Linked DNA regions of Homo sapiens: all the other regions are linked to region 6. The links are contacts of gene promoters, found by promoter capture Hi-C in blood cells and fetal thymus (Javierre and others, 2016). All regions are on one chromosome and are shown on one strand. Each heading gives the region's core, a stretch centred on a gene start or on the middle of the fragment in contact. The rest is flanking DNA. Distances are from core to core; before and after follow the strand shown. Region 1 overlaps RNF10 (ring finger protein 10). Region 2 overlaps XLOC_009911 (a long non-coding RNA gene). Region 3 overlaps RNF10 (ring finger protein 10). Region 4 has its middle 29 kb from the start of XLOC_009911. Region 5 overlaps SPPL3 (signal peptide peptidase like 3). Region 6 holds the start of UNC119B (unc-119 lipid binding chaperone B).

What was found. The method cuts DNA at HindIII sites, captures the fragments that hold promoters and counts their contacts. A CHiCAGO score of 5 or more calls a contact.
Region 1: a contact is called between a fragment that was not itself captured here and the fragment with the promoter of UNC119B in region 6, in 1 of 17 cell types (M1 macrophages). The highest score is 5.8, in M1 macrophages.
Region 2: a fragment that was not itself captured here is called in contact with the fragment with the promoter of UNC119B in region 6 in 1 of 17 cell types (endothelial precursors); the score reaches 6.0 in endothelial precursors.
Region 3: a fragment that was not itself captured here is called in contact with the fragment with the promoter of UNC119B in region 6 in 3 of 17 cell types (M1 macrophages, M2 macrophages and megakaryocytes); the score reaches 7.1 in M1 macrophages.
Region 4: a contact is called between a fragment that was not itself captured here and the fragment with the promoter of UNC119B in region 6, in 1 of 17 cell types (endothelial precursors). The highest score is 6.2, in endothelial precursors.
Region 5: a fragment that was not itself captured here is called in contact with the fragment with the promoter of UNC119B in region 6 in 1 of 17 cell types (endothelial precursors); the score reaches 5.8 in endothelial precursors.

What each region holds. Positions count from the first base shown.
Region 1 is chr12:120,536,985-120,540,087 of GRCh38, reverse strand. The region is part of intron 1 of RNF10 (ring finger protein 10); the gene reads right to left. Among named protein-coding and RNA genes, the nearest start is that of RNF10, 4.2 kb to the right of the region's middle. The HindIII fragment of the contact is 1,570 bases long and covers 807-2,376 here.
Region 2 is chr12:120,907,492-120,910,366 of GRCh38, reverse strand. It overlaps XLOC_009911 (a long non-coding RNA gene), which reads right to left. Exons shown (of 2, transcript NR_131215.1): 2 at 2,293-2,712. Among named protein-coding and RNA genes, the nearest start is that of XLOC_009911, 4.2 kb to the right of the region's middle. RefSeq lists an enhancer at 202-321. The HindIII fragment of the contact is 3,439 bases long and covers 1-2,875 here.
Region 3 is chr12:120,557,775-120,560,678 of GRCh38, reverse strand. The region is part of intron 6 of RNF10 (ring finger protein 10); the gene reads right to left. Among named protein-coding and RNA genes, the nearest start is that of POP5, 22 kb to the left of the region's middle. The HindIII fragment of the contact is 5,059 bases long and covers 1-2,904 here.
Region 4 is chr12:120,931,853-120,935,120 of GRCh38, reverse strand. No RefSeq gene overlaps it. Among named protein-coding and RNA genes, the nearest start is that of XLOC_009911, 29 kb to the right of the region's middle. The HindIII fragment of the contact is 1,944 bases long and covers 977-2,920 here.
Region 5 is chr12:120,879,747-120,882,654 of GRCh38, reverse strand. The region is part of intron 1 of SPPL3 (signal peptide peptidase like 3); the gene reads left to right. Among named protein-coding and RNA genes, the nearest start is that of SPPL3, 23 kb to the left of the region's middle. The HindIII fragment of the contact is 2,450 bases long and covers 132-2,581 here.
Region 6 is chr12:120,708,882-120,711,790 of GRCh38, reverse strand. It overlaps UNC119B (unc-119 lipid binding chaperone B), which reads right to left and starts at 1,333. Exons shown (of 5, transcript NM_001080533.3): 1 at 1,073-1,333. The coding sequence starts at 1,316. It overlaps LOC124903036 (a long non-coding RNA gene), which reads left to right and starts at 1,285. Exons shown (of 2, transcript XR_007063491.1): 1 at 1,285-1,354; 2 at 1,517-1,858. RefSeq lists silencers at 1,024-1,293, 1,384-1,443 and an enhancer at 574-1,416. The HindIII fragment of the contact is 2,396 bases long and covers 340-2,735 here.

The DNA of each region.
Region 1 (3,103 bases), core at 342-2,841, 170 kb after region 6:
TTTTTTTTTAAGTTCCTCATGAGGTCAGGAGTTTGAGACCAGCCTGGCCAACATGGCGAAACCCATCTCTACTAAAAATACAAAAATTAGGCCGGTGTGGTGGTGGACACCTGCAATCCAGCTACTCAGGAGGCTGAGGCAGAAGAATTGCTTAAACCGGGAAGGCAGAGGTTAAAGTGAGCTGAGATCGCGCCACTGAACTCCAGCCTGGGTGACAGAGCAAGACTGTCTTGAGGGAAAAAAAAAAGTTCCTGAGGAGATTCTGATGCACAGCCACCACTGAGAACAACTGCCAAGAACTACTGTCAAGACACATTCCAAAATGGACAAGACCACTAAACTCAGGCTCCAGAGTCGACAAATAAATGACTTAAAAACTTAACCCAGCTTCTCAGTTGTTCCACATTTCCCTAATGGAAAGGTCTCCACCAAGTAGCAGTAGGTATATCTCAGCCTCCCCCCATTACCAAATTAAGGGCCACAAGTTTTTCACAGTTAAATTACTTGGCATCTTCATTTCTAGCTCTAGTTCTAACAGGTGGCTCGGCCTAGAGGTCAGAATACCAGTCAGCAAGTTTCTGCTGCTGATTCATGCTGTAATCACAAGCAAGTTGCTTACCCATCATCCAGAGTAGTTGACAAGCACCTCCAGAGGGGCAACATATGGCCTTACTACAGAATCAACTGACAACAAATTGAATCCAGCTGAAATTAGTAATTCTGAATGAAAGGAAGAGAGAGGTGGTATCAGGAATGATGCACATGCCAGTAAGTTATCTGCTTGCTAAGTGTGATTATACAAAGCTTATTGAAAAATACCGCCTAGGACTTCATAAAAATTTACTTGGACAAATCACTCTTAACACTGCTAAGCCTCTATTTTCTTTTCTGTGAAACAGGACTAATATTCTACCATACTTCCTCATAGAATCATGAGGATTAAGAAAGAAAACTTCTGTAAAATGCCTACCATAGTGGCTGACACACAGTTTTACTATGATTTGAAAGCCTATCATTAATAAATCCAAAGCGTTCCTGTCAAGAGCACCCACTAGACTTCCAATGAAGCCATATAAACCAAGGAATCCAGCCAACGGGCCCTGAAATTCTTTTAATTTCTCTAAGTGGTTTTACTGAAGGCTTCAAATCACCTCAATTTTCAAAGCCATTAAAATCTCCAGGTCCATTTACAGCTCAGAGGCATTCTTCAAGGCAGATTACCACTAGTAACCTGGTTTCTGGTACCAGAATAACAGGAAGAATGCCAGGGCAGTGCTTCATACCACCAACCTCAAAATAACTGCCTCATAATACCTGACCTTCCCTTAACCTCCCTGGCAGTTCTATCGGCCCAGGGGGATGGGACAAGAGCCTGGTTCCTGGCCAGAGTCCACTGCCTGCCCATAAACGGCCTACCTTCTCTCTTGCCTCTCTTTCTTTGCTCCCTCTAAATGACTTTCCCCACTTTCTAACCCACCTTCTCTCCTCTGAGCTATATTCACAGGATATTTACTGCTGCATGTTCTCAGAAATACCTATTAACACTACTGGAATGAAGCTGTAGGAATATAATCAAGAAAAGGAATGTTATATAAATGTTCAGGCAATTAGCCCAGGCAAAGAAACTGTGGTATGCGACTCTAGCCGGAAAGATCAAGAAAATCCTGGTAGCCAAATTTACATATTTCCTGTGTACAAATGAAGGGCAAATTTAAGCCAGCCACTGGAACAAAATCTCAAAGAAATTAATCATGTAGCTAGGAAGCAAATGGCCATTAATGACAGTTTACAGAATAGAAACCAAAGGGCTTTCTTCCACGAGGTAGAAAAGGGGGAGAAAAAAAGTGACTTAAATATTTGAATACTGAAAACTCTTGCTCTTTTCACCTTGACAAAAGATAAACTATCTTTTCACCTTACGCTTGTTTTCCCCTCAACTCAGTACTCTGTAATTCAAGAGGTCCTTTCAATGATTCCCAGCAGAATCAAGTATATGAAGTGTTCAGCTTATGAGATACTGCAGAAATCTTTTTATGGGATTATGCGGAGCTTGAGTGTACCCTTTTGTTAGAGCAACCATCTCATCGTGAAGTCACTGCATCAGAGCTCCTGAGTATCTGCTGTAGTAGCACTGGTCTTAGCTGTTACGTTCCTAAGGCAGCTTAGTTTCAACTTTAAAAATCAGCCAATATCCAGTTTCCTAACCTTTTAATCTCCACATATCCTGCCTTTTAATTTGTTCCTAAATGCAAGCAGTGGATTATGGCTAGTGAAGAAGCATGGATTTGGCTACAAAGCCCATCCTTCCTTGCTAAACGAACACGCACAGCAGAAGCCAGAAAAGCAGACACTGGCGGTGGCAAACATGGTCAAGCTTTCTAACACACACATTAAACAAAAAAAAAAGAATGCTGCCTCAAGGCACATATGTGTTATTTGTAAAATCTAACAAAGGGCCTTTACATGAGTTTTTGTTTTTTTAGACGGGCTGGAGTGCAATGGTGCAATCTTGGCTTACTGCAACCTCCGCCTCCCGGTTTCAAGGGATTCTCCTGCCTCAGCCCCCCGAGTAGCTGGGATTACAGGTGCGCACCACCACGCCGGACTAATTTTTTGTACTTTTAGTAGAGACGGGGCTTCACCATGTTGGCCAGGCTGGTCTCAAACTCCTGAACTCAGATGATCCACCTGCCTCGGCCTCCCAAAGTGCTGGGATTACAGGCGTGAGCCACCGCACCCGGCCTACATGAGTTTTTACAGAAGTTTTCTTGTTTTGAGACGGGGTCTCACTCTGCCACCCAGGCTAGAGTGCAGTGGAGTGATCGTGGCTCACTGCAACCTCGAACTTCTGGGTTTAAGTGCTCTTCCTCCTCCCCTGCCTCAGCCTCTTCACAGCTGGGACTACAGGTGCGTGCCACCACGCCCGGCTCATTTATTTTTTTGTAGGACAGGGTCTCGAACTCCTGGGCTCAAGTAATCGGCCTGCCTCAGCCTCCCAAAGTGCTGGGATTATAGCCACCCAGCCCATTTGAAATGTTAACAATGACAAATACTTGCTTTGGTCAAACTACTATAGAATTCTGTATCATCTTGTTGGGTAATC
Region 2 (2,875 bases), core at 55-2,554, 200 kb before region 6:
TAGGACATTCTGGAATAGGCAAAACTATGCAGACAGTAAAAAGATCCGTGGTTGCCAGAATTTGATGGGGAGGGAGGGATGAATAGGCAGAGGGTGGGAGATTTCTGGGGCTGTGAAACTATTCCGTATGACATTATAATGGTGGTTACATACCATAGTGTATTTGTCAAAGCCCGTAGACTATACAACATGAAGAGTAAAACCTAATCTCATTATTGGCTCATCAACTGTAACAAATGTACTTACACTAATATACCATGTGATTAATAGGGGAGATTTACTGGAGGGAGAGGCCTATATGGGAACTCTCTGTACTTTCCCATCAATTTTTCTGTAAGCCTGAAACTTCTCTAAAAAACGTTTTCTGAAAACCCATGTTCAAAGAATGCAAGTGACCCTGTGTCTGATAAGCTCACCATATACCTTACTTCTGATCTGTCTTCCCGTATCTCTCTCCCCTTAAGAACTCTCACTCTTAGTCAAGGAGGGAGTTACAGAGGACAGAAGTGGGTGTTGAGTATGACATCAGGCAAAACAAGTTGTTCTGGATCCTGGCTTGCCTTCCCCTTCACTCAAACATTCATTCTACAGACACTGAGCTTCTATTCTGGGCTAATCTCTCTGCTGGGCACACAGGATATAACTGGCAGCCAGTTACAATCCCTTCCCAAGAAGCATTCACAAGCTAAGGGAGAAACTGACAAGTAAACAGTCGATGACAGTTCATTATGCCAAGTGTCATGTGGGTAAATTCAGAGGACAATGAGAATGCAGAGAAGTATCTAACCCAGCCTAGGTTTTGGTCAAGTGAGATTTCCTGGAGGATGTGACATTGCAGTCAAGCCCCGAAAACTATAAGCAGCAGTTAAGAGGCAATGGGAGGCCGGGCGCTGCGGCCCACACCTGTAATTCCAGCGCTTTGGGAGGCAAAGATGGGTGGATCACTTGAGATCAGGAGTTTGAGACCAGCCTGGCCAACATGGCCAAAGTCGTCTCCACTAAAAATACAAAAAAAAATTAGCTGGGCATGGTAGTGGTGGGCAACTGTAATCCCAGCTACTCGGGAGGCTGAAGCAGGAGAATCACTTGAACCCAGGAGGCGAAAGTTGCAGTGAGCTGAGATGGCGCCACTGCACACCAGCCTCGGCGACAGAGTGATACTTTGTCTAAAAAAAAAAAAAAAAAGAAAGACCCAATGGGAAACCTCCTGGACTTGATCAGAGGATTGGAAGCAAAAAAGAACACAGCCCGTGGGGAAGCTACAAGCAGGTCACTATGGAATATAAACAAAGTGCACATGCATGTGTGTGGGGGCGAGGGGTGGATGACAGAGGGGAGAAATGGCCTGGAGGGACTGGTAGAGCCAGGTCAGACCTAAGCCTTGATGTTCTCAGAAACAATGCTTAAGCAGCCCAGACAGACCTTGTAATGCCAGCTTCCTGGAGTCTGTGCCTAAAGCAGAGGACCCATCCTGGGGGAGACTCCCCAAGTCTCTTTTGAACACACTTGGTGGAAGAAGCTATCCTATAATTACTGTGGTGATAATTAGAGGCACCTGCATGGCCTCTTTCTTTCTTTTTTTTTTTTTGAGACGGCGTTTCGGAGTTTCGCTCTTGTTGCTCAGGCTGGAGTGCAGTGGCACGATCTCGGCTCACCGCAACCTCCGCCTCCCGGGTTCAAGCGATTCTCCTGCCTCAGCCTCCCGAGTAGCTGGGATTGCAGGCATGTGCCACTACCACCCGGCTAATTTTTGTATTTTTAGTAGGGATGGGGTTTCTCCATGTTGGCCAGGCTGGTCTTGAACTCCCGACCTCAGGTGATCTGCCCGCCTAGGCCTCCCAGTGTGCTGGGATTACAGGCATGAGCCACCGCACCCAGCCTCCATGGCTTCTTTCAGCAAATATTGCACAAGCTGTAGCGCTCTCACCTGCAGTGGGGTGCAGAGAGACAAAGCACCCCTCCTGGGGGAGCCTAATGCCTGAGTCTCTTGTGAAGCACACCTGACTCCCTGGCTGAGGCCCAAAGGTGTCACAGATACACCTGGGGCTGCTATAGCTTGGAGCTGAGTGCTGCTGGCAGGGAGACTAAAAGTCACTCCCAGTCGGGTGCGGTGGCTGACGCCTATAATCCTAGCACTTTGGGAGACCAAGGTGGGCAGATTGCCTGAGCTCAGGAGTTCGAGACCATCCTGGCCAACATGGTGAAACCCCGTCTCTACTAAAAATACGAAAAATAGCTGGGCATGGTGGTGGGTGCCTGTAATCCGAGCTGCTTGGGAGGCTGAGTCAGTAGAATGGCTTGAACCCAGGAGGTGGAGGTTTCAGTGAGCTGAGATTGCGCCACTGCACTCCAGCCGTGTGACAGAGCAAGACTCTGTCTCAAAATAAAATTAAAATTAAAAAGTCACTCCCCAGATGCCACAGTCTGGGCAGCTCCCAGGCAAGCCACAGGCTTCAGATTTATTCCAACCTTGCCCTCTGGGGAGACTTCAAGCCTGTAGAGATGTTGACTAGGATCTAGAGGTGCTGTCTACTTCTCGGCAACCTTAGCCTGAGATGCTCAAGCCATTAGTCTCTGGGCCCACACTTCATCTTCCTGGGACCAGGTACACGGTGTTTCCATGGCCTGGACATCATCCCAGCCCTGGCAAGTGCTGTGTAGCTTCTTCTAGGGTCTGCAGCCACATTTCCTCAAGAAACACTTCGGAGGTCTCTGGTTCAGATAGAGAGAAGAAAACCTCTCCTCATTCACCATACCTTCACCAAACCCCTTCTCCCTCCTTTCTTCCACCAGATTTTTCCCACTGAAAAGAATGGTCCCTTTGCTTCTGGGAAGGCCTTGACTTTCCTACTCTAGCAGCTCCCGTTTCATTCAT
Region 3 (2,904 bases), core at 344-2,843, 150 kb after region 6:
CGATGGTGTAGCTAAATAGGAATTTTCAAATACAGCCTTTTCTCTGGGGTGAAAATGGGGTAATTTAGCATGATTTCCTAGAAAATAATTTAACAATGGTCTTAAAATAAGGTCTGTAGCTCTGCTCTTGATATAAGAAATCTAAGAAACCCAGAGATGTAGTCAAAACTTTAGTCACGCGTTTATTGTTACAGCATTGTATGTAATATCAGAAAAGCTCAAACCAGCCAGGCACCATGGCTCACACCTGTAATCCCAGCACTTTGGGAGGTCAAGGCGGGTGGATCACTTGAGATCAAGAGTTCGAGACCAGCCTGACCAACATGGTGAAACCCCGTCTCTACTAAAGATACAAAAAAGTTAGTCGGGCCTGGTAGGGCATGCCTGTAATCCCAGCTACTTGGGAGGCTGAGGCAGGAGAATCGCTTGAACCCAGGAGGCAGAGGTCGCAGTGAGCCAAGATCATGCCACTGCATTCCAGCTTGGGCAACAAAAGCGAAACTCTGTCTCAAAAAAAAAAAAAACAAAAAAAACCACACACAGAAAAAGAAAAGCTCAAACCAACCAGTAAAACCAACAATAAAGAATAAAGAAATGGTGGACCAGCGCAGTGGCTCACACCTATAATCCCAGTACTTTGAGAGGCCAAGACAGGAAGATTGCTTGAGTTTAGAAGTTTAAGACCAAGCCAGCTGGGTGTGGTGGCTCACGTTCAGCACTTTGGGAGGCTGAGGCAGGTGGATCACCTGAAGTTAGGAGTTCGAAACCAGCCTGGCCAACATAGAGATACCCTGTTTCTATTAAAAATACAAAAAATTAGCTGGGCGTGGTGACGGGCGCCTATAATCCCAGCTACTAGGGAGGCTGGAGTAAGAAAATCGCTTGAACCCAGGAGGCAGAGGTTTCAGTGAGCCAAGATCGCACCATTGCACTCCAGCCTGGGCAACAAGTGCAAAACTCTGCCTCAAAAAATAAAATTAAAAAAAAATAACACCAGGCGGAGTACGGTGGCTCACACCTGTAATCCCAGCACTTTGGGAGGCTGAGGTAGGCGGATCACAAGATCAAGAGATTGAGACCATGCTGGCCAACATGGTGAAACCCCGTCTCTACTAAAAATACAAAAACTAGCCAGGTGTGGTGGTGCGTGCCTGTAATCTCAGCTACTCAGGACGCTGAGGCAGGAGAATCTCTTGAACCTGGGAGGCGGAGATTGCAGTGAGCCGGGATTGCACCACTGCATTCCAGCCTGGCAACAGAGTGAGACTCCATCTCAAAACAAAAACAAAAACAAAAAAAGCACAACACACACACACAAAAAAAACAAAAATTAGCCGGGCGTGGTGGCAGGTGCCTGAAATGCCAGCTACTCAGGAAGCTGAGGAAGGAAAATCGTTTGAACCGAGGAGGTGGAGGTTGCAGTGAGCCGAGATCACACCATTGCACTCCAGCCTGGGAAACACAGCAAGACTCCGTCTCAAAAAAAAAAAAAAAAAAAAAAAGAGTAGTTCAAGACCAGCCTATCAACATAGCAAGACCTCATCTCTGCTAAAAATAAAAATAAAAAATTAACTATACCTGCATGCCCAGTTAATTTTTTAAAATAAAAAAAATAATTTAAAATTAAAAGTTAATTTAATTAATTAAATTAATTTTAATTATTTTAATGAATTTAATTAATTAAAAGTAATTATTGCCACTGCACTCCAGCCCAGGCGACAAAGTGAGATTCCATCTCAAATAAAGGGTTAATGACATGATGGTATGTTCATTAACGAAAATTCTGTGGACACTAAAAGTGGTTTTCTTGGCCGGTCACAGTGGCTCACGCCTGTAATCCCAGCACTTTGGGAGGTAAGGCGGGCAGATCACTTGAGCTCGGGAGTTCGAGACTAGCCTGCCAACATGGTGAAACCCCGTCTCTACTAAAAATACAAAAAAAATCAGCCAGGCATGGTGGCGGGCGCCTGTAGTCCCAGCTACTCGGGAGGCTGAGGCACGAGAATCGCTCAAACCCGGGAGGCAGAGGTTGCAGTGAGCCAAGATCATGCCACTGCACTCCAGCCTGGGTGACAGAGCCAGACTCTGTCTCAAAAAAAAATATATATATACATATTATATTATATATCTATAAATAAAATAAAAATAAAATTTATCAGTCTTTTACAGCATCTATCATTTCAGCCTGGTTCAAAAATCCACCCATATCTGAGGATTTTTTTTTAATTAATACACATTTTTAATGTTTTAAGTTGCTAAACATTTAAACAGTCAAAATCACTAGGAAAAAAATATTACACACACACATTTACCACCCAAATGAGAACACACAATCCTTCAGACAGATGCACATCTGAGGATTTATAAAGAAATTGTCCTATATTTTCTTTTAAATAAAAAGGTTAAAACTTTTGGATTTTTTACATTTACTTCTTCAATCTATCTGGAATTAATTTCATGAATGGTATGAAATAGGAATCTAATTTTATTTTTTCCTTAGGGAGAATCAATTGTTTCAATACCATTTATTGAGAAATCTATCTTTTCCCCAGAGACTGAAATGCTATTTTAATCAAATGCTCATTTCTGCATGAAACACAGGGAATACATCTCTGGCATTCATTGTGAGCACTTATCACACTCTTTATCCTAATGGCCAGTCTACCAGTCTGTCTCTTCTATCGGACTACTGAGTTTCTTGACGACAGGCACCAAGACTGGCTGACCACAGAACCTCTAAGATTGGGCACAGTGAAAGACACTATGTAATAAAACCTTGTAAAATGAAAAATTAGGATGTATAGATTAAACAAACTTGAAACCAATAATTAATCTACTCTCTACAAACCCCACCCTAACCTACTGGAATCCTATGACTAATATGAACATGCCAGATGTGCCCTG
Region 4 (3,268 bases), core at 699-3,198, 220 kb before region 6:
TGAACCTGAGAAGCGGAGGTTGCAGTGAGCCGAGATCACACCACCGCACTCCAGCCTGAACAGAGCGAGACTTTGTCTCATAAATAAGTAAACAAATGAATAAATGTGAGTAACATCCTATATTAGTTTCCTACTGCTGCTGTAGAAATTACCACAAATATTGACTTTACACAAGCTTATTCTCATAGTTGCGGAGGTCATGAATCTGACATCGGTTTTATAGGGCTAGTTCCCTGTGAGGGCTCTGAGGGAAGAATGTGTCCTTGCCTTTTTCATCTTCTAGAGGACCACCTGCATTCCTTGGCTCACATTCCCTTCATCGATCACTACAACCTCTTGTTTCCATCGTCAAATCTGCTACCGCTCACTCTGGTGTGCCCACCTCTTCCAAGGACCTGTGTGATTATATTGGGCTAGATAATCCAGGATAATCTCCTCATCTCAAAAATATTAATTTGATGCATCTACAAAGTCTCCTTTCCTATAATCATAGGTTCTAGAGTTCTAGAGATTAGGACATGGACATCTTTTTTTTTTTTTTGAGACAGAGTTTTGCTCTTGTTGCGCAGGCTGGAGTGCAATGGCGCGATCTTGGCTCAACGCAACCTCCACCTCACGGGTTCAAGAAATTCTCCTGCCTCAGCTTCCTGAGTAGCTGGGATTACAGGCATGTGCCACCACGGCCAGCTGATTTTGTATTTTTAGTAGAGAGGGGGTTTCTCCATGTTGGTCAGGCTGGTCTTGAACTCCCAACCTCAGGTGATCCCGCCACCTTGGCTTCCCAAAGTGCTGGGATTACAGGTGTGAGCCTGCTCCCGGCAGGACCTGGACATCTTTTAGGGGTTATTATTCAGCCTACCACACACTTACCAGATTTAAAATTCTATGATGTACACTTACCTACAGTATCTCATTTAGATACTTATGAGGTGTTATCATTCCTATTTAATGAATGAGAACGCAGGTCTAGAAAGCTTCATTGCTTAGCCACAGTCATATAGTCAAAGAACTAGAAACTCAAACCGGAGTATATGGCCCTAGAGACCATGTAACAGCACTACACACCACTTCTCCTCCACCAGGCTGCCTGTAAATCACGGGCCTTTGGCCTCTCATTTTCTTGTACAACTCAAAAAAAAAAAAAAAGAAGAGGAAGAAGAAGAGGAAGAGGAGGAGGAGGAGGAGGAGTAGGCGGTGGCAGCGCCATGGCTCAAGCCTGTAATCCCAGCACTTTGGGAGGCCAAGGCAGGAGGATTGCTTGACCCCAGGGGTTTGAGACCAGCCTGGGCAACATGACGAGACTTTGTCTCTACTAAAAACAAAAACAAAAAAAACTTGGCTGGATGCAGTGGCACATGCCTGTAGTTCAACTAGTTGGGAGGCTGAGGCAAGAGGATTGCTTGAGCTCAGAAATTCAAGGCTGCAGTGAGCTATGATTGTACCACATCACTGCACTCCAGCCTGGGTGACAGAGCAAGACCCTGTCTCTCTGACAGAGGAGAGAGAGAGAAAGAGAGAGAGAGAAGGAATGAATTGACCTAAGAAGGAAAATGGCTGAATTCGGGATATATTTTGGATGTGGGTTACTTAGGGGACACAGTGGGGCAGGAATTGGTCCTATGTGAGTCCCTGCATCCCTCAAGTGTGCCACTGGAAGAAAAGCAGAAGGAGCAGCAAGTATGGAGCCCATGTCAGGGTGTCACCAGCTCCCCAGTGTGAGCCACTCACAGAACGCAAAGGCCATGCAGTGCTGGGATTCAGAAAGTATCAGATTTCAAGGCCTGTGTGTCCTTGGGTGAGTAGCTTGGCCTCTCTGGGCCTCTGGATGGACTGGGGGCAGCGAGTCTATAAAGCCCTGAGCTGCCTTTCCTGCATTCTCAGCACATTATTGGAACCTGAGTGCATCGTGACAGCCCGGTGTGCTGACAGCTGGCAGAGTCCACACGCCTCTTCTACGCGTGGCTTCAGTGTCCTCTCATAAACCTGACCCTGCCCGGTCAACCCCAGCTCTAAAAAGAACTGTCCAGCCCTAAGTTAGGACAGCATTTTCTCCTCTGTGACTTCACTTCCGTTGCACCCTTTTTTTTTTTTTTTTTTTGAGACAATCTTGCTCTGTTGCCTAGGCTGGAGTGCAGTGGCATGATCTCTGCTCACTGCAATCTCCACTTCCCAGGTTAAAGCAATTCTTATGCCTCAGCCTCCCGAGTAGTTTGGACTACAGCTGCATGCTGCCACCACGCCCGGCTAATTTTTTTTTTTTTTTTTTTTTTGAGGTGGAGTTTCGCTCTTGTTGCCCAGGCTGGAGTGCAATGGCACCACCTCGGCTCACCGAAAGCTCTGCCTCCTGGGTTCAAGCGATTCTCCTGCCTCAGCCTCCCAAGTAGCTGGGATTACAGGCATGTGCCACCATGCCCAGCTAATTTTGTATTTTTTTAGTAGAGATGGGGTTTCTCCATGTTGGTCAGGCTGGTCTCAAACTCCCGACCTCAGGTGATCCGCCCACCTCGGCCTCCCAAGGTGCTGGGATTACAGGCGTGAGCGACCGAGCCTGGCCTAATTTTTTGTGTTTTTAGTAGAGGAAGGTTTTCATCACGTTGCCCAGGCTGGCCTTGAACTCCTCAGTCCAGGCAATCTGCCCTCTTCGGCTTCCCAAAGTGCTGGGATTACAGGCGTGAGCCACCACGCCAGCCCCTTTATAGCATTGTTTTATTTTCATTTCTCCCCTGTGTTCTCTCCCAGCTTTAGCCATCCTTTAGGATGTTCCTCCATCTTCCACCCTCCACTTCCACCAAGGTGCCTCATTCCTGGTCGCCATGCCTCACATTCCTCTCCCTTCTCATGAGTCCTGAAGCACTTTACAGTTCGATTAGAAAACCAGAGTCAGGAGGTCTGGATTTGACATGTGGCTTGACCACAAGCTTTCTGTGTGACGTTGGGCAAGTCATGAGCCTGCTCTGAGGCTCAGTTTCTTTATTCCGATATTGAAAGACAAGAGGGTCAGATACTTGCCCTCACCAAGCTGGATCATTTCGATTAAATATCTAGGGTGGATGTGGTGGCTCACGCCTGTAATCCCAGCACTTTGGGAGGCTGAGGCAGGCGGATCACGAGGTCAGGAGATCGAGACCATCCTGGCTAACATGGTGAAACCCCATCTCTACTAAACATACAAAAAATTAGCCAGGTGTGGTGGCGGGCGCCTGTAGTCCCAGCTACTCGGGCGGCTGAGGCTGGAGAATGGCGTGAACCCGGGAGGCGGAGCTTGCAG
Region 5 (2,908 bases), core at 107-2,606, 170 kb before region 6:
ATGTCTTTTGATACCATTTAATATATAATCAGTTTTTGTGGATACATAGGAGACCACTGTATTCAATCTCTCTAGTTTTTATTATATCACTTTTATTCCTGATCTTCCAGTTGCCCTGTCTCAAGAAAGCTTATAACCAGTTTTCTTTCTATCTTTCTAGAAATGTGTGCATGAAAACACATGTGTATACAAAGTCCTATGCAGTACCCCTGTTATATTGCAGTAAAATACACATAGCATAAAATTGACCATTTTAAGTGTCACTGAACTCAGTGGCATTAAGTACATGCACATTATTGTGCAACCTTCACCACCATCCATTTCCAGAACTTTTTAATCTTCCCAGATTGACACTGTATACAGTAGTCCCCTCTTATCCACATCCCAAGACTCCCAGTGGATACCTTGAAACTGCCGATAGTACTGAACCCTGTATATACTGTTTATTCAATCTGATAACCAAGATGGTTATCAAATGTCAAACTGGTGGGTAGGGGTAGTGTATGTATATAGCATGAAGATGGTAGACAGAGGGATGAGTGACATCCCAGGCAGGAGGGAGCAGGATGGCATGAGACTTCATCATACTACTCAGAATGGTCCACACTTTAAAACTTACGACTTTTTTCTGGAAATTTCCATTTAATATTTTCAGACCACGGTTGACTGCATGGAAGGTGAAACCATAGATAAGTTTAATCGGAACTACTGTACCCATTAAACTTTTAACTCCTCATTCCCCTCTCTCCCCACACCCTGGCAACCTTTGTTCTCCTTTCTGTCTCTGTGAATTTGACTATGCTAGGTACCTCATATAAATGGAATCTAACAATATTTTGTTTCTTTTTTTTTTTGTTATTGGCTTTTTCACTTAGAGTAATGCCCCCCGAGCTTCATCTATATTTAGCGTGTGTCAGAATTTTCTTCCTTTTAAAGGCTGGATAATACTTGACTGTATGGGTAAGACCACATTTTGTGTATCTGTTCATTTGTTGATGGGCAGTAGTTGCTTCCACCTTTTAGTTACTATGAGTAATACAATGAATATTGGTGTACAAATATCTGTTCGAGACCCTGCTTTCAGTTCTTTTGGATATAAACCTAGAAGTGGGATTGCTCAATCTCGTATGGCAATTCAACATTTAATTTTTTTCCTTCTCTTCTCTTCTCTTTTTTTTTTTTTTTTTTTGAGGCAGTCTCACTCTTTTGCCCAGGCTGGAGTTCTGTGGCGCTGTCTTGGCTCACTGCAACCTCTGCCTCCTGGTTCAAGTGATTCTCCTGCCTCAGCCTCCCAAGTAGCTGGGATTACAGGCACACACCAACACGCCCAGCTAATTTTTGTATTTTTAGTAGCAACAGGGTTTCACCATGTTGGTTAGGCTAGTCTTGAATTCCTGACCTCAGATGATCCTCCCGCCTCGGCCTCCCAAAGTGCTGGGATTACAGGCGGGAGCCACCGCACCTGGGCAACATTTTAATTTTTTGAGGATCCACCATTACCATTTTCCATAGTGACTGCCAAATTTTACATTCCCACCAGCAATGTATAAGGGTTTCAGTTTTTCCACATCCTTGCCAACACTAGTTGAATTTTGTGTGTGTGTGTGTTTTCTTTCAATAGCCATCCTAATGGGTATGAAGTGGTATCTCATTGTGATTTTGATTTATATTTCTCTAGTGATTAGTGATGCTGAGCATCTGTTCACGTTTATTGACCATTTGTGTATCTTTGGAGTAGTGTTTATTCACGTCCTTTGTCCATTTTTTTTTTTGGCTGGGTTGATTGTTGTTGAGCTGTAGTTATTAGTATATTCTGGATATCAATCCCTTATCAGTTATATGATTTGCAAATAATTTTTTTTTCCCCCGAGACGGAGTCTCTCTCTGTCGCCCAGGCTAGAGTGCAGTGGTGTGATCTCGGCTCACTGCAACCTCTGCCTTCCGGGTTCAAGCGATTCTCCTGCCTCAGCCTCCCGAGTAGCTGGGACTGGAGGCACGTGCCACCATGCTCAGCTAATTTTTTGTATTTTTAGTAGAGATGGGTTTCACCGTGTTAGCCAGGATGGTCTCCATCTCCTGACCTCATGATCTGCACACTTCAGCCTCCCAAAGTGCTGGGATTACAGGTATGAGCTACCACACCCGGCCGATTTGCAAATAATTTCTCCCATTATGTAGGTTGTCTTTTGATTTTGTTAATAGTGGCCTTTGGTGCACAAGTTTTTACTTTTGATAAGGTTCAATTTTTCTGTCTTTTGTTGTGTGTTCTCTGGTGTCACATCCATGAAATCTGCCAAATCCAATGTCATGAAGCCCTTCTCTTTTTTCTTCTAAGGGTTTTTAGTTTTAGCTCTTATTTGTATGTTTTTGATCCATTTTTGAGACTATTTTTGTATAATAGTAAAGGTCCAACTTCATTCTTTTGTGTAATTCATTTTTAATAGGATAGTAGTGTACCATATACGCTGAGATTCGTTATCTGGCTTTTTTCACTCAATAATGTGTCTCAGCCCCAGTGTTTTTTTTTCATCCTGTCCTCCAGTAGCCTGTTGAGTGGTGTGAGTCAATATGTAGGAAAGCTTTTGAACATGGCTCCCTTCACTAACAGTTAAAATTAAAAGAAAATCAAGTAGGATTGTTAAACCGAGGAATGAAAAGTGAAAAAAAAAAAAAGATAAAAGCAGGGAACAGAGGTGGAGTATGGGAATTCCAAGTATCACCAACTTCTGCTTTTAGGGCAGATTGCAACTTTATTGAAAATTTGTGAGGCACATTGTTAAACTCTGTATATATATGTAAGTTTTTTAAATCCACATTTGACTGCATGTGTATATATATAACTTTTACCTTTAAATCAGTCCCCTGAAATGTAGGTGGTGTTTTTCCCATTTTACAGATGAAAAACTGA
Region 6 (2,909 bases), core at 84-2,583:
CCATCCCCAAATTACTAGAGCTGCAATCGGCAACCTGAGGTGCACCTGAACAGCCCTGGGCTGCCTGCTATAGCAGCTCAGCAGACACCATGGCAGCCTTCGATCCATCCAGGGAATGTTGCTGCTGCCACAGGGTTAGGAGACTGCACGCCAGGAGTGATGGGCAGGCCAAGATAGGCCTAACTAGGTGAGTGCACACTCCTGCAGGGAAAACAGCAGCAAGAGAAAAGACGTCAAGTCAGGGACTGGCTTGGCAGAGAACAGAAAAAGGGAGATCACCCAGGGCAGGGACTGGGCAACATTTTTCTTCCCACCCATCCTCCTATCAACGAAAAAGCTTAGGATGGTTGCCTTTTGTGCAGGAAACGCATTTCTGAAACTCTGAAATCATTCTTAATTCACGAGAATGTCAAAAGCAGGATTCACATGTCGGAGTCTGTACACAAACTGAAACTTTATTTTTGTTTTAATGTGGCACAGTTTTAAATGAGCAGGAAATGCCACGGCTATGTGTTTTGAGGAAGAACCCATCTGCACACTAAGGGGCAACGCTCCCGACCCAAAGAGGGAGGGAGGCCGGGCAGGCTGCAATGGGGGAGGGCTGCCATGGGGCCAGGGCGGAGGAAGCAGGTAAGGCTTCTGGCCTGCCAGAGGGCTGGGGGAGCCTGGCTGAGCGGGAACTTCACTGATGGCCGGGGGTTCCAGGCTGAGGGCCCAGGGGCCCATTTATTAGGGGACCTCGGCCCCCGGCCGGCTCAGGAGGATCCAGTTCAGCTGAACGGGGCCCTCTACCCAAACAGGTCCGGCAGAGCTGGGGAGCCGACCGGCCGAAGGGCATCCTAGCGTGGCCGGACTCACAGGAATGCGGTCCAGCCCAGGAGAGTCCTTCCCCACCAGAGCTACGTGAGCGTGGCGGGAGCAAAGCCCGGCCGGCGGGGCAGCGGGAAGCGCGGCCCGGCCGGCCGAGGGGGTCTGGCGGGGACCCCCGCGCTGGTCAAGTGGCCGGGTCCGCTGAAGGCTCCGGGAGCCGGGGCACGGCGCGAGGGGAGGGCGCGGCCCGCGCGGCACTCACTCTCGGTGACCCGGCTGAGGCGCAGGACGTGCTCGGGCCGGATGGTGTCCAGCGCCAGCAGCTCCTGCTCCGTGACCGCTGCCCCGACGCCGTCGTCGGCCGCGTGGTGGGGCGCCTGCCGCCGCGCCTTCAGGCGGTTCAGGACGCCGCCGCCCGCCTTCTTCTTCTCCTCCTTGCCAGCCACCAGCCCCCCGGGCCCAGCCGCCGACGCCGCGGCCGCAGCCTTCGGGTTAGACCCGCTCATCGCTCCGCCGCCAAGATGGCCGCCGCCTCCACAGCGCGGTAACTATGGAGAGCGGGGGCGGGGCCCGGGGCCCGGCGGGGAAGGGGCGGGGAGGGGGCGGGGCGGGGGCGGGGGCGGGCGCCCGGGGGGCTGTGGAATTCCCTTTCGCACAGGGTGGACCAAGGCCCACTCTCCCCAAACTTCCATCCCCAAATAACTAGAGCTGCCATCAGCAACCTGAGGTGCACATGAGCAGCCCTGGGCTGACTCCTATAGCAATTCAGCGGACGACACCATGGCAGCCTTCGATCCATTCAGGGAATGCTGCTGCTGCCACAGGGTTAGGAGACCGCAGGCCAGGAGTGATGGGCAGGCCAAGATAGGCCTAACTGGGTGACTGCACACTCCTGCGGGGCCCGGGGGGCGGTGCTTCGGCTACTGCCCCAACTTTGGTCCTGCCAGGTGGAGGGCCTAGGGGTGGCTGGAGCTTCAGCAACCCCACTCCCCATCAGACCCCCAAGATCCTCCACGATGTTTAAATACATATCTTACGGTCAAATGAATTTACGTCATATAAACTTTCCTCCTCCTCATCCTCCTCCTGGTCTGAAAGAGCACACAGAATCTTCCGTGCACCATCTCGGCATTCTCAATCCAAGAGTTCTGTCACCAGTCCCAACAGCACAATGGCAACTAATTCCCAGTAATCACACCAAGAAGAAGAATGGCCAGTGTTTACTGCGCACTTGCTATATGGCAGGACACTTGCTATAGGGCAGGCTCCTCACCTCACAACAACCCTGTGAGGTATTACTGTCTCCATTTTACAGATCAGGAAGCTCAAGTTCAGAGAAGTCAGGTAACATGTCCAAAGTCCCTCAAGCAGTAAGAGGAGGGAACAGGGATTTTAATCCAGGTCCATCTGACCCAAGGCCTGTTCTTCAACACTAAGCTATTAGTGGACAATGCATCTTGAGAAAATGTTTATTAATATATTTAGCATAGAAGGTAAGTTAAAGCAGTGTTTGTTTTGCAAAGGCAGTTTCAAGACAAACTTTCCAATGAGATTGCCATCCGTAAGCCCTACTGTGCCAGGCCCTGGGCTAGACATTGGGCTAGGCTACAGGAGATGTAAGAGTGAGGGCAGGGATTGGGTCTGCCTCACCCCTGAATTCCCAGCAGTTCAGCTAATGCCTGACACGTGGTAGGTGCTCAGTAATGATTGAATGAGAGCCTGAACAGTATCCCACTATGGAAGAGCTCCCACTTTTGTTAGAGAAGACTGTAAAGTACACAATTCATTATGTGACCCTTCCTTTTCACAAGGTAGGTTAGTATGAACTGGAAGACAAACTAGATTCACTGACTGCACTAAGAGATGCAGCAAAGGTGCTAGGAGAACACACAGGAGTGGTTTATTCTGACCTGGCTGTAAAAGCTTGAGGGCTTCGGAAGTTTTCAGAGGCAATATCTGCACTGAGCTTTGGAAGTTAGCCATGACCTCACCAATTAGCCAGAAGTGGGTCAACAGGGGGATGTGGTCTACCGTCTTCCACCCTGAGGGGCTCCTTCTCTAGGGATTCTAGATCTGCACTGTTCTGTGTTGGAGGCCTG